2 separate regions of the Homo sapiens genome follow, and region 1 is linked to region 2. Evidence: promoter capture Hi-C in human tissues and cell types (Jung and others, 2019). All regions are on one chromosome and are shown on one strand. Each heading gives the region's core, a stretch centred on a gene start or on the middle of the fragment in contact. The rest is flanking DNA. Distances are from core to core; before and after follow the strand shown. Region 1 has its middle 30 kb from the start of ADCY9. Region 2 holds the start of CREBBP (CREB binding lysine acetyltransferase).

Evidence for each region. Contacts are between HindIII fragments. The study calls those that stand out against the background at their distance.
Region 1: a contact is called between a fragment that was not itself captured here and the fragment with the promoter of CREBBP in region 2, in 1 of the 25 tissues and cell types used here (small bowel).

Annotation. Positions count from the first base shown.
Region 1 is chr16:4,144,002-4,149,069 of GRCh38, reverse strand. No RefSeq gene overlaps it. Among named protein-coding and RNA genes, the nearest start is that of ADCY9, 30 kb to the right of the region's middle. RefSeq lists an enhancer at 1,385-1,916. The HindIII fragment of the contact is 3,902 bases long and covers 1-3,557 here.
Region 2 is chr16:3,878,139-3,883,734 of GRCh38, reverse strand. It overlaps CREBBP (CREB binding lysine acetyltransferase), which reads left to right and starts at 3,022. Exons shown (of 31, transcript NM_004380.3): 1 at 3,022-3,903. The coding sequence starts at 3,819. RefSeq lists silencers at 2,547-3,096, 3,117-3,166, 3,504-3,813, 3,854-3,903, 3,984-4,033 and an enhancer at 2,767-3,343. The HindIII fragment of the contact is 21,091 bases long and covers 1-5,596 here.

The sequences.
Region 1 (5,068 bases), core at 357-2,856, 270 kb before region 2:
TGAGGTTCATTTGTTTTCCTTACAAATAGGCAATTTGTTTTTCCTTACAAATAGACAATTATTCTAGCCCATTTGTTGAAAGGTTTTTCTTTCTCCATTGAATTACCTTGGTACATTTGTTGGGAATCAGTTGGCCATATTTATGTAGGTCTATTTTTGGACTCTGTTTTCTGCTCCATTGATTCTATTTTGTGTATCCTAACGCCACTACCAAATGGTCTTAGCTACTGCTGTTTATAGCAGTTCTTAAAATCAGCCAGTGTAAGTCCTCTGAATTTTTTCCTTATTAGGATTATTTTGGCTATTCTAGGTCCTTCTCATTTCCACTTACATTTTAGAATCTGCTTGCCAATTTCTAAAAAAAGCTTTCTGGTTTTTTTTAATTTTTTTTTTTTTTTTTTTTGAGAGAGGGTCTTTTTCTGTCACCCAGGCTGGAGTGCAGTGGCATGATCATAGTCACTGTAGCTTCACCCTCCTGGGCTCAAGCAGTCCTCCCACCTCAGTCTCCTGAGTAGCTGGGACTACAGACACATTCCACCATGACTGGCTAACACTTCTATTTTTTTGTAGAGATGAGGTTTTGTCATGTTGCCTAGGCTGGTCTCAAACTCCTGAGCTCAAGTGATCCTTCTGCTTTGGCCATGCCAGTCTGCATTCTGGAATTTTACTTGGGATTACATTGAGTCTATAGATTAATTTGAGACAATTGACATTTTAACAATATTGAATTTTCTAATCCATGAACATGGTACATTTCTTCATTTATTTAGATTTTCTGTAATTTCTTTCAATAATGTGTTACAGCTTTCAGTGGAAAAGATTTGCATATCTTTTGTTAAATTTATTCCCAAATAGCATTTTTTATTTTAATGAAGGAACCTGGAAGCCCCAGAAAGGTGAAGGTGAAATGGTTGATGGGCAATTATGGGGCTGATGTTTGGGGTTGGAGCTCGATTCAGCACCCAAAATGATCACCGTCAAGAAGCAGCTGGTCACATGGGGTGATTCTCACTTTGTCCTCTCCAACTGGTTATTGCAATCAAGCCAATTTGCTGTCTGGGGGACATGACAGCTAGTAAGGCTGTGTTCCATTGCAGTGAACACCTTGGTCCTCCCTTCTCGACCCTGGGTGTCCCACACAGATCAGCCACAGGCTGCCTGTGCTTACGGTCCCCTCCTGAGAGAAGCTGCAGTGTCTCCAGCTTCTGATGCACAGTGTGAGGCTTCCCCCTGAGCAACAGTGGCCAGTGGCCTTGGTGAGGCCCAGGCTTGGACAGCCCTGCCCTACGGGACTAGAAAATGTAGTACCAACCACGGATTTGGTAGGACAGGAGAAGCCAAGAAATGGATGAGAAGAGGCAGAGAAGGAAGCTGAGTGGCTTTAATGGCAGAGCACTGTGGAAGGGGCCCATGAATGGCAGTTGCCTGAGGGTCTACCAGACAGGCTGCTGTCGGAGCAGCCTTGGGTTTCCAGTGGACTTCCACTTCCGGTGCCTGGGGGGCCTCGCTCTCCTGGGACTCTTGCTTTCCCCAGAAGGCTTAGGTGTTTTGACTTTCCCAAGGCTCCTTTGAGGGCTGGCGCCGTGGCTAAGCTTCCTCTCTTCCTTATTCCACAAGCCTCCCCACCGTAATGCCTACCCACTGTGAGAACTGACTCGGAATCGCTGCCGCTGGTATCCAGGGGTGCCACCCTCACACAACTGTGACTGCCCTTGGAGCTCTTGTGCTCCCTCAGTTGGAAGCCTTTTGTTTTCTCTAGGTTACTAGGCTACGTCAATGTGTGGGTGCATACACAAAAATAATTGGGACACCATACTTTGTCTTTGCAGTTTTGTCTCACATAGGCAGAGGTCTTACTGATAATTTGGAGGGGCCAATCAGAGGCATCCTGGATAGCGGGGAGTCTGAAAGGCAGGCCAGGCCCGGCATGGCAGCTCACACCCGTCATCCCAGCACTTCAGGAGGCTGAGGTGGGAGGATCTTTGAGCCCAGGAGTTTGAGACGAGCCTGGGCAACATAGGGAGACCCCATCTCTATAACAATTTTAAGAATTAGCTGGGGCTGGGTGTGGTGGCTCATGCCTGTAATCCCAGCTGAGGGACTTTGGGAGGCTGAGGCAAATGGATAATCTGAGCTAAGGAGTTCGAGACCAGCCTGGCCAACAAAGTGAAACCCCATCTCTACTAAAAATACAAAAATTAGCCAAGTGTGGTGGCGCGTGCCTGTAACCCCAGCTACTCAGGAGGCTGAGGCAGGAGAATCACTTGAACCCAGGAGGCGGAGGTTGCAGTGAGCAGAGATTGCACCACTGCCCTCCAGCCTGGGTGACAGGAGCGAAACTCCACCCACACCCCCACCAAAAAAAAATTAGCTGGATGTGATGGTGCACACCAGTGGTCCCAGCTACTTAGGAGGCTGAGGCAGGAGAATATCTCCTTGAGCCCAGTAGGTTGAGACTGCAGTGAGCCACATTCATGCTACTGCACTTCAGCCTGGGTGACAGAGTGAGACCCTGATTCAAAAAAAAAAAAAAGAGAGAAAGGCTGCAAGGAAGACCTGGGAAAGCTGGGGTTCGCAGGAGAGGTGCTTGGGGAGCTTTCAATACTGCCTTGAAGTAGGAGAATATTTGCTCCCAATGCCATATTGGGAGGGGAGGAGCTTTCAAGGAGCTGTACAGCCACGGGACAGGCTTCCTGGGACTCTGATTTCTGTATCCCTGGAATAAACAAGCAGATGCTACAGAGACGCCTGCATTGGGCAGGGTCATGAGCTCTTCAAGATCCATTTGACACTGTTTCTAACACTTTACCATGAGTCAATTCATGATCTCTCAAGAAAAGCTCTTCAGGGGAGGAACCCCCCAGAATTAATTTTTTGTTTTTGGAGGCAGAGTCTGTCTCTGTCACCCAGACGGAAGTGAATGCAGTGGTGGGGTCATGGTTCACTGCAGCCTCGACACCCTAGGCTCGAGAGATCCTCCCTCTTCAGCCTCCCTGAGTAGCTGGGACTGCAGGCCTGTGGTCTGGTTAATTATTATTTATTTATTTTTGAGACAGAGTCTCTCTGTTCCCCAGGCTGGAGTGCAGTTGCTAGATCTTGGCTCACTGCAACCTCTGCCTCCTGGGTTCAAGCAATTCTCCTGCCTCAGCCTCCCGAGTAGCTGGGATTACAAGTGCCTGCCACCATGCCTGACTAATTTTTGTGTTTTTAGTAGAGGCAGGGTTTCACCATGTTGGACAGGCTGGTCTCGAACTCCTGAGCTCAAGTGATTCTCCCACCTCAGCCTCCCAAAGTGTTGGGATTACAGGTGTGAGTCACCATGCCTGGTCTAGTTAAGTTTTAAAAAATTTGTATAGAAACAGAGTCTTGCTATGTTGCCCAGGCTGATGTTGAACTCCTGGCCTCGATACTCATACTTTGGCCTGCCAAAGTTCTGGGATTATAGGTGTCAGCCACCATGCTGCTGAAAGACATTTTGTGTTTGTTTGTTGGTTTTTTATACGGAGTCTCATTCTGTCACCCAGGCTTGAGTGCAGTGGCGTGATCTCGGCTCACTGTAACCTCTGCCTCCCAGGTTCAAGAGATTCTCCTTTCTCAGTCTCCTGAGCAGCTGGGACCACAGGCACATGCCACCACGTCTGGCTAATTTTTTTTGAGATGGAGTCTCGCTCTGTCACCCAGGCTGGAGTGCAGTGGCGTGATCTCAGCTCACTGCAAGCTCTGCCTCCCAGGTTCATGCCATTCTCCTGCCTCAGCCTCCCAAGTAGCTGGGACTACAGGCGCCCGCCACCACGCCTGGCTAATTTTTTGTATTTTTAGTAGAGATGGGGTTTCACCGTGTTAGCCAGGATGGTCTGGATCTCCTGACCTCGTGATCTGCCCGCCTTGGGCTCCTAAAGTGCTAGGATTACAGGTGTGAGCCACCGCGCCTGGCCCGCGCCTGGCTGATTTTTGTGTGTACATATATATATATATATATATATATATATATATATATATATATATATATATATATATATATTTAGAGATGGGGCCTCACTATGTTGCCCAAACTGGTCTTGAACTCCTGGGCTCAAGCAATTCTCCTGCCTTGGCCTCCTGAAGTGCTGGAATTACAAGCATGAGCCACTGCACCCGGCCAATTTCACTTTTAAGGGGTCCCATGCTACTATATGAGAGGCAGCCAACATACCTGGCCTACCTGGCCTTCCTCTTCACCTTTGAAAATGGCTTTCCACACTAGCCTGTAGACTACAGACTATTTCTCCAGGTGAACCTATTAATTGCAGAAGACAGATTCCAGAAATCTCAACAACAACAAAAAAATTAAAAGTGAAATTGGTTGTCTGACACCTTGGAGCAGAGACTCTGTCATTTACCTCTTTTTAGTTGGACTGGAGAGTACAGGCCCTGCCTACAGCAGAAGCTCATCAATGTTTTTTGATGATCCAGTAAGCATCTTTTAAAAATGACAGGATTCTGAGACAGGCTATAAGATGAATGAACTTGAGGACACTGTGGTAAGTGAAATAAGCGAGGCACAAAAGGACAATATTGTATAATTCCACTTACAGGAGGGACCTAGAATAGTCCAACTCATGGAGACAGAAAATGGAATGTTTGTCAGGGAATGGGGAGGAGGGGTGAGGAGTTAGTGTTTAATGAGGACAAGGGCTCAGTTTAGGATGATGAAAAAATTTGAAGATAGATGGTGGTGATGGTTGCACAACAATGTGAATATACTTTTTCTTTTTTTTTTTTTTTGATATGGAGTCTCTCTCTGTCACCCAGGCTGGAGCGCAGTGGTGCGATCTCGGGTCACTGCGACCTCTGCCTCCCAGGTTCAAGTGATTCTCCTGCCTCAGCCTCCGGAGTAGCTGGGATTACAGGCGAGTGCCACCACACCTGGCTAATTTTTGTATTTTAGTAGAGATGGGGTTTCACCATGTTGGCCAGGCTGGTCTCTAACTCCTGGCCTCAAGAGATCCACCAGCTTCGGCCTACCAAAGTGCTGGATTACAGGCGTGAGCCACCACGCGCGGCCAACAATGTGAATATACTTAATGTC
Region 2 (5,596 bases), core at 1,773-4,272:
TATTTCTTCATCTGTGAAATGAGGACAATTTTTCCTTCCAGGATTGTAGGAAGTGCTATCCATGGGAGGCATGGCAGAGCGGCCTGGTATCCCTAAGGCACTCACTTGTTGAAGGTGATCCCCAGCTAAGTGAGTGCAGGCAGGAGCCACGCTTCCCTCCTTGCTATTCCCCCATCAGTGTCTGAGCTCAGGGTTCTTTGAGTCAGACTGAAGGGAGAAGAAATCGAAAGGAAAGAAAAAACAGGTATCAGTGAATACCAGAATTGATCAAAATGATACAGGTGAGAACAATGAGACAGAAAAAGGGACTGCAGAGCCGGTATATTTTGAGGGTGGAACATGGTGAGACAGGAAGACTAGGGTCTTTGGAGAGTGAGGACATGGGTTCCAGGCCCAGACTTGCCATGTCCGGGTTATTTACTTCTGAGTCCTTGCGACTGAGTTCCCTTGCTTTCCTCTGTAAAATGGAAACCTGTCAGGGAATGGCTCAAGCTCCTGTGCCCACTTCTGTGTAAACCACTCACCAATGGACCCCTGGGGGGCTGCATGGTGTCTCCACTGCCCCAAGGCAGGCCCTAAGACCTCTAGGTGGCTGGACACCTTGTCCCGTTTGAAGAGTGGCCTGGAGCCACCTCAGGCTGGGGCCCACCCTTTTCAGTGGCCTGAAGGCCTCTAGGACTCAGAGCACCTGACACAGCTCATCACTCATTCAGTTTTACAAACCTACTTCTTCTTGCAGAGCACTGTTTCTGTGACTAAGACACCATCTTTGCCCCGAAGGAGCTCACAGACCCTTGGTGAGACGGACACCCAGAGCATTCAGATACAGGGTGTGGCCTGCCCTGTGCCACTGATACACTTCTTGCCATTCCTGTGCAAACTGACTTCTTGAATACTTCCATTTATGGCTTCCAGGGTGTGCTATTTTAACTCCTTGAATATATGGGGATCTCTTTATGTTTGGCCAAGGGGATTAGCACAGTCTCAATGCCCTTGGGATTCTCAAGAGCTATTTGATGCATAAGTAAAAACATGAACTAATTCGGGGGCAGTGGAGGCGGGGAAGATGGGGCAGGATGTGTTATGTGTTCTCTCACAGAGCCCAGAAGTGATATGGGAGCCGAGGAGTGGGCTAGGAGGGCTTCCTGGAGTAGGTGACATTTGAACTGGGTTCTGGAGGATGAGTTAGAATTTGCCAGGCATGTCTTCTCAGCACAGGGACCAGCATTTGAAAAAAAAAAAAAAAAAGCCTGAATGATGTGAACTGCCTACTGGCCAAGTGGGTGTAGGATGATGATGGTGAAGTGAGCCATGTAAAGTAGAAGAGACAGATTCAAGAGCGGTATCACGGCCCAAGATTTTGAGCAGTACAGGTAAACAGAGAAAAGCAGAACGATCACTCAATCTTGACACTCAAGGACAGTCACCATATGTACATACACCTATGTTTTTAAGAGAATTCATACGTGTTCTTTTTTAAAGAAAGACTATGTAGTGTTTTCTTTTTCTATGTCTGGGATTTTGTTTTGTTTTGTTTTGTTTTTGAGACGGAGTTTCACTCTTGTCGCCCAGGATGGAGTGCAATGGCGAGATCCCGGCTTACTGGCCTCCCCAGTTCAAGTGATTCTCGCATCTCAGCCTCCCGAGTAGCTGGGATTACAGGCGCACGCCGCCACGCCCAGCTAATGTTTGTATTTTTGGTAGAGATGGGGTTTCACCATGTTGGCCAGGCTGGTCTTGAACTCCTGACCTCAGGTGATCTGCCACCGCGCCTGGCCAGGGAGTTGTTTTAAACAGATTTTCTCCCTCTCTTTTCGGGATGTTAACTCTGGTGCTGCGTGGGGAGCAACGTGGAGAGCAAAGAACACTTAAGTGAGTAGCTGCCACCATAGCCACCGGGACAGTGCGGGAGGAGCAGTCTCCCAGGTAAAGACCGTGGGTAGAGGGGCGCGTGGCGGGTGAGAGGGAGGAGTCCGCGCTGACTCACGGGTTTCTGGCTTAGGAAACAGTGGAGCTGCTGATACCTTTATGAGGAAGCCGGGCAAGTTTGGAGGGGCAGATAACTAACTGGGATGGGAACACCTCGGGTATTCGTAGAAGTGTCCCGCGGGCTGTGGTCTCGCGTGGGGGACTCCCCAGGCCCGCACCCCTGTCTGGGGCACCTGCGAGGCGCCAGGCAAGTTGCCTGGGGCGGGGAGTGCGGCCTGAGCGTCCAGGCTTAAGCCCCGATGCGCGGGCCCTTCTCCGCCCAGGCCGGCCCTCGCCACCCCGCTCTCACAGGTGAGGGTGTCTGCCCTGCCGCCTTGGGATGCGAACAGGCGTGAGGCCCCCTCACTCCCTAGTGTCACGAGGTAGGGCGGGACCCGAATCCCGGCCCTGCCACTTCCTGCCTCGACCACTTTGGAGCAGTTGCTCGCCCCCCGCCTCAGTTTCCCCATCCGCCCACCTCGTCGGCAGGACCCAAGGGCGGTCTGTAACCTGCAGAGGCCATTCCACTTCCCTGGCCGGCGGCGAAGGCTAGTGGCGCGGCCTGGGCTGGGGTCGCCCCGACCGTTCCCGACCGACGCCACCTAGGAGGGTCTGGGGAAGGGGACGCGAGGAGCTGGGAACACGCAGCGCCGCCCCAGCGGGACGGGCGGGCCCGGGCTGGCGTCGAATCCGCGCCCGAGAGCCCAGCCCGCGGCCAGGCCGCCGCTCCCGGAGCCCGCTGGGGCCCGGAGCCCCGGCCCTCTACGCCTGGTCGCCATCAGAACAAAAGCTGTGGCTCAGCCCGGAGCCCAGGCGCCCCGCAGGCCTGGCCCGCGCCGGGCCGCCAGCTTCCCTACGCTTGGCGGCCGCGCCTTCAGCCCTTCGGCCCGAGCACGCTCGGCTCTTTCCGCCACGGCCGGCGCAGGTGGAGGGGGCGGGGCGGGGGCCGTGCGTGGTGACGCCGCGGGGGGGTGACGCACCGGCGTGCCCCGCCCCCACCCCCTCCCCGTTCAGGCTCTGGAAAGAGAAGAAAAAAAACTTTCTTTTTTTTTTAATTGAGGAATCAACAGCCGCCATCTTGTCGCGGACCCGACCGGGGCTTCGAGCGCGATCTACTCGGCCCCGCCGGTCCCGGGCCCCACAACCGCCCGCGCACCCCGCTCCGCCCGGCCGGCCCGCTCCGCCCGGCCCTCGGCGCCCGCCCCGGCGGCCCCGCTCGCCTCTCGGCTCGGCCTCCCGGAGCCCGGCGGCGGCGGCGGCGGCAGCGGCGGCGGCGGCGGCGGAACGGGGGGTGGGGGGGCCGCGGCGGCGGCGGCGACCCCGCTCGGCGCATTGTTTTTCCTCACGGCGGCGGCGGCGGCGGGCCGCGGGCCGGGAGCGGAGCCCGGAGCCCCCTCGTCGTCGGGCCGCGAGCGAATTCATTAAGTGGGGCGCGGGGGGGGAGCGAGGCGGCGGCGGCGGCGGCACCATGTTCTCGGGGACTGCCTGAGCCGCCCGGCCGGGCGCCGTCGCTGCCAGCCGGGCCCGGGGGGGCGGCCGGGCCGCCGGGGCGCCCCCACCGCGGAGTGTCGCGCTCGGGAGGCGGGCAGGGGATGAGGGGGCCGCGGCCGGCGGCGGCGGCGGCGGCCGGGGGCGGGCGGTGAGCGCTGCGGGGCGCTGTTGCTGTGGCTGAGATTTGGCCGCCGCCTCCCCCACCCGGCCTGCGCCCTCCCTCTCCCTCGGCGCCCGCCCGCCCGCTCGCGGCCCGCGCTCGCTCCTCTCCCTCGCAGCCGGCAGGGCCCCCGACCCCCGTCCGGGCCCTCGCCGGCCCGGCCGCCCGTGCCCGGGGCTGTTTTCGCGAGCAGGTGAAAATGGCTGAGAACTTGCTGGACGGACCGCCCAACCCCAAAAGAGCCAAACTCAGCTCGCCCGGTTTCTCGGCGAATGACAGCACAGGTGAGGAGGGGGTCCGGGGCGGCGGGGGCCCGGGGCGCGCTGTCACCCCCACCTGAAAGAGAGCGTCCGGGGGTCGTGGTCGCGGATACCGATCGAGCCGGGAGCTCGGAGCAGGCCCCGCAGCCCGTTCCCCTCGCCCCGCGCGGGAGGGTGGAAGTTCGTCGCAGGACTGTCACTGGGCCCGAGTTGGTCAGCACACGCCCGGTGCACTCGGCCTCCCCGCACCCGATCAGCCCTCCTCGCGGGGACCCTAGTGGCACTCCAGGAGGGAAGAAGTAAAGTGCAGCGTGTGGGTTTGTTTGGTAATGTCCTACGCATCCATCCGCGGCCGTGTCCACACGCGTGGCCGTCCAGAGGAATGACAGCGGAGGGTACCTTTGATGCTTAGAGAAAGCAAGATCGCGGCCAAAGGTAGGGCAGTGTGTTTTCTGGATTGGCGACACATTGACCAGGCTGCATTCAGAGGACACTCACAGCAGCCGCCAGCTTGCGAGTTAGAACCGAAGTTTCTTGGAATGAGTGAGTTCCTTGGAAAGATGCTTAGTGCTTATTTTCAAAACTCCTTGTTTTGTGTGTGTGTGTGTGTGTGTGTGTGTGCGCGCGTGTGTGTTTTTAGTCAACTAGTCATTCCATTTTTCAAAACCCAAACTTCGTTAGCAAGATGTCATGAAAGTTGCTGTGGTGTGTTTCATTTCCATGTATAACTTCAAAAGAAAGTTAAACAGCAGGTTTAAGTTCATTTGGGCTGCAATCTCCATTTGAGTTTGTGTTGCTTTCACAGTGTAGATGTACAAAGAATTAAGGAATGTAGGAATTCCAATTTTTCAAAAAAATGGAGCAGGATACTGAATAAATCATCTTTTTGTTTGTTTCCTTTCATTAAACGGCTTCCCTGGAAACTTTCTTAAGTTATCATAGCTGCTTAAGAGAAGTATTTAGTTTTCTATTAATTCAGTAATTCTGGGTCCCACTGCGCTGGTTCATGGTAACATGAACTAGTTGTATTTCCTCTTTTAGAGCTCTCTCCTTTGCCGCAAAAACTTGTGTGCCGCTGCGAACAATTCCATCTCCAGCGCAGCTTGCATTTCTCCAGTAGTCTTGCAGTGGTAGCATCTGAAAATCAGTTTCTAATGAATGAGTCCAAATTGAATTACATCGCTGCCTTCAGATTTGCACTAGACACAGCTGTTCAACTTGTGGAAATAGTTCTGTGACCGACCACTAGCATATTAAAAAAAACTGCTATTGCTGTTGAAACAAAACCTGAATTTTGTGGCTTAAGTTTGAATACAATTCCTGGAATCAAGTTATGATAAGCGACGTTTAATATTAATGTAGAAGTGAAAAGCGATTTTTAAAGATCAATCATAAGGAGATTCTTATCTAGTTAAAATTTGTTAAACAGTGGGGAGGAGTAAATGATGCTCATGGTATATAAAAATCACTAATGCTTTTCTTTTTAGCTGATAAAAGTTGAGTTTGACGTTAATCTTATAAAATGAACTTATTGAAGTGAGAAATTTGGAAACAGTAGTTTAAATGCCGTTGTACTGCAAAACAGATCTCCGTTGCTTCATTAATCTTGCTGTGTTTGAGTAGTCTTCAGTTCTGTGAGACGTAGGTCATACGTGGCGAGTTCAGCTTTGAAGCTTGTCTTCTGAAACTGGTAACCTGGATGGCTTTGTAGCTTTGC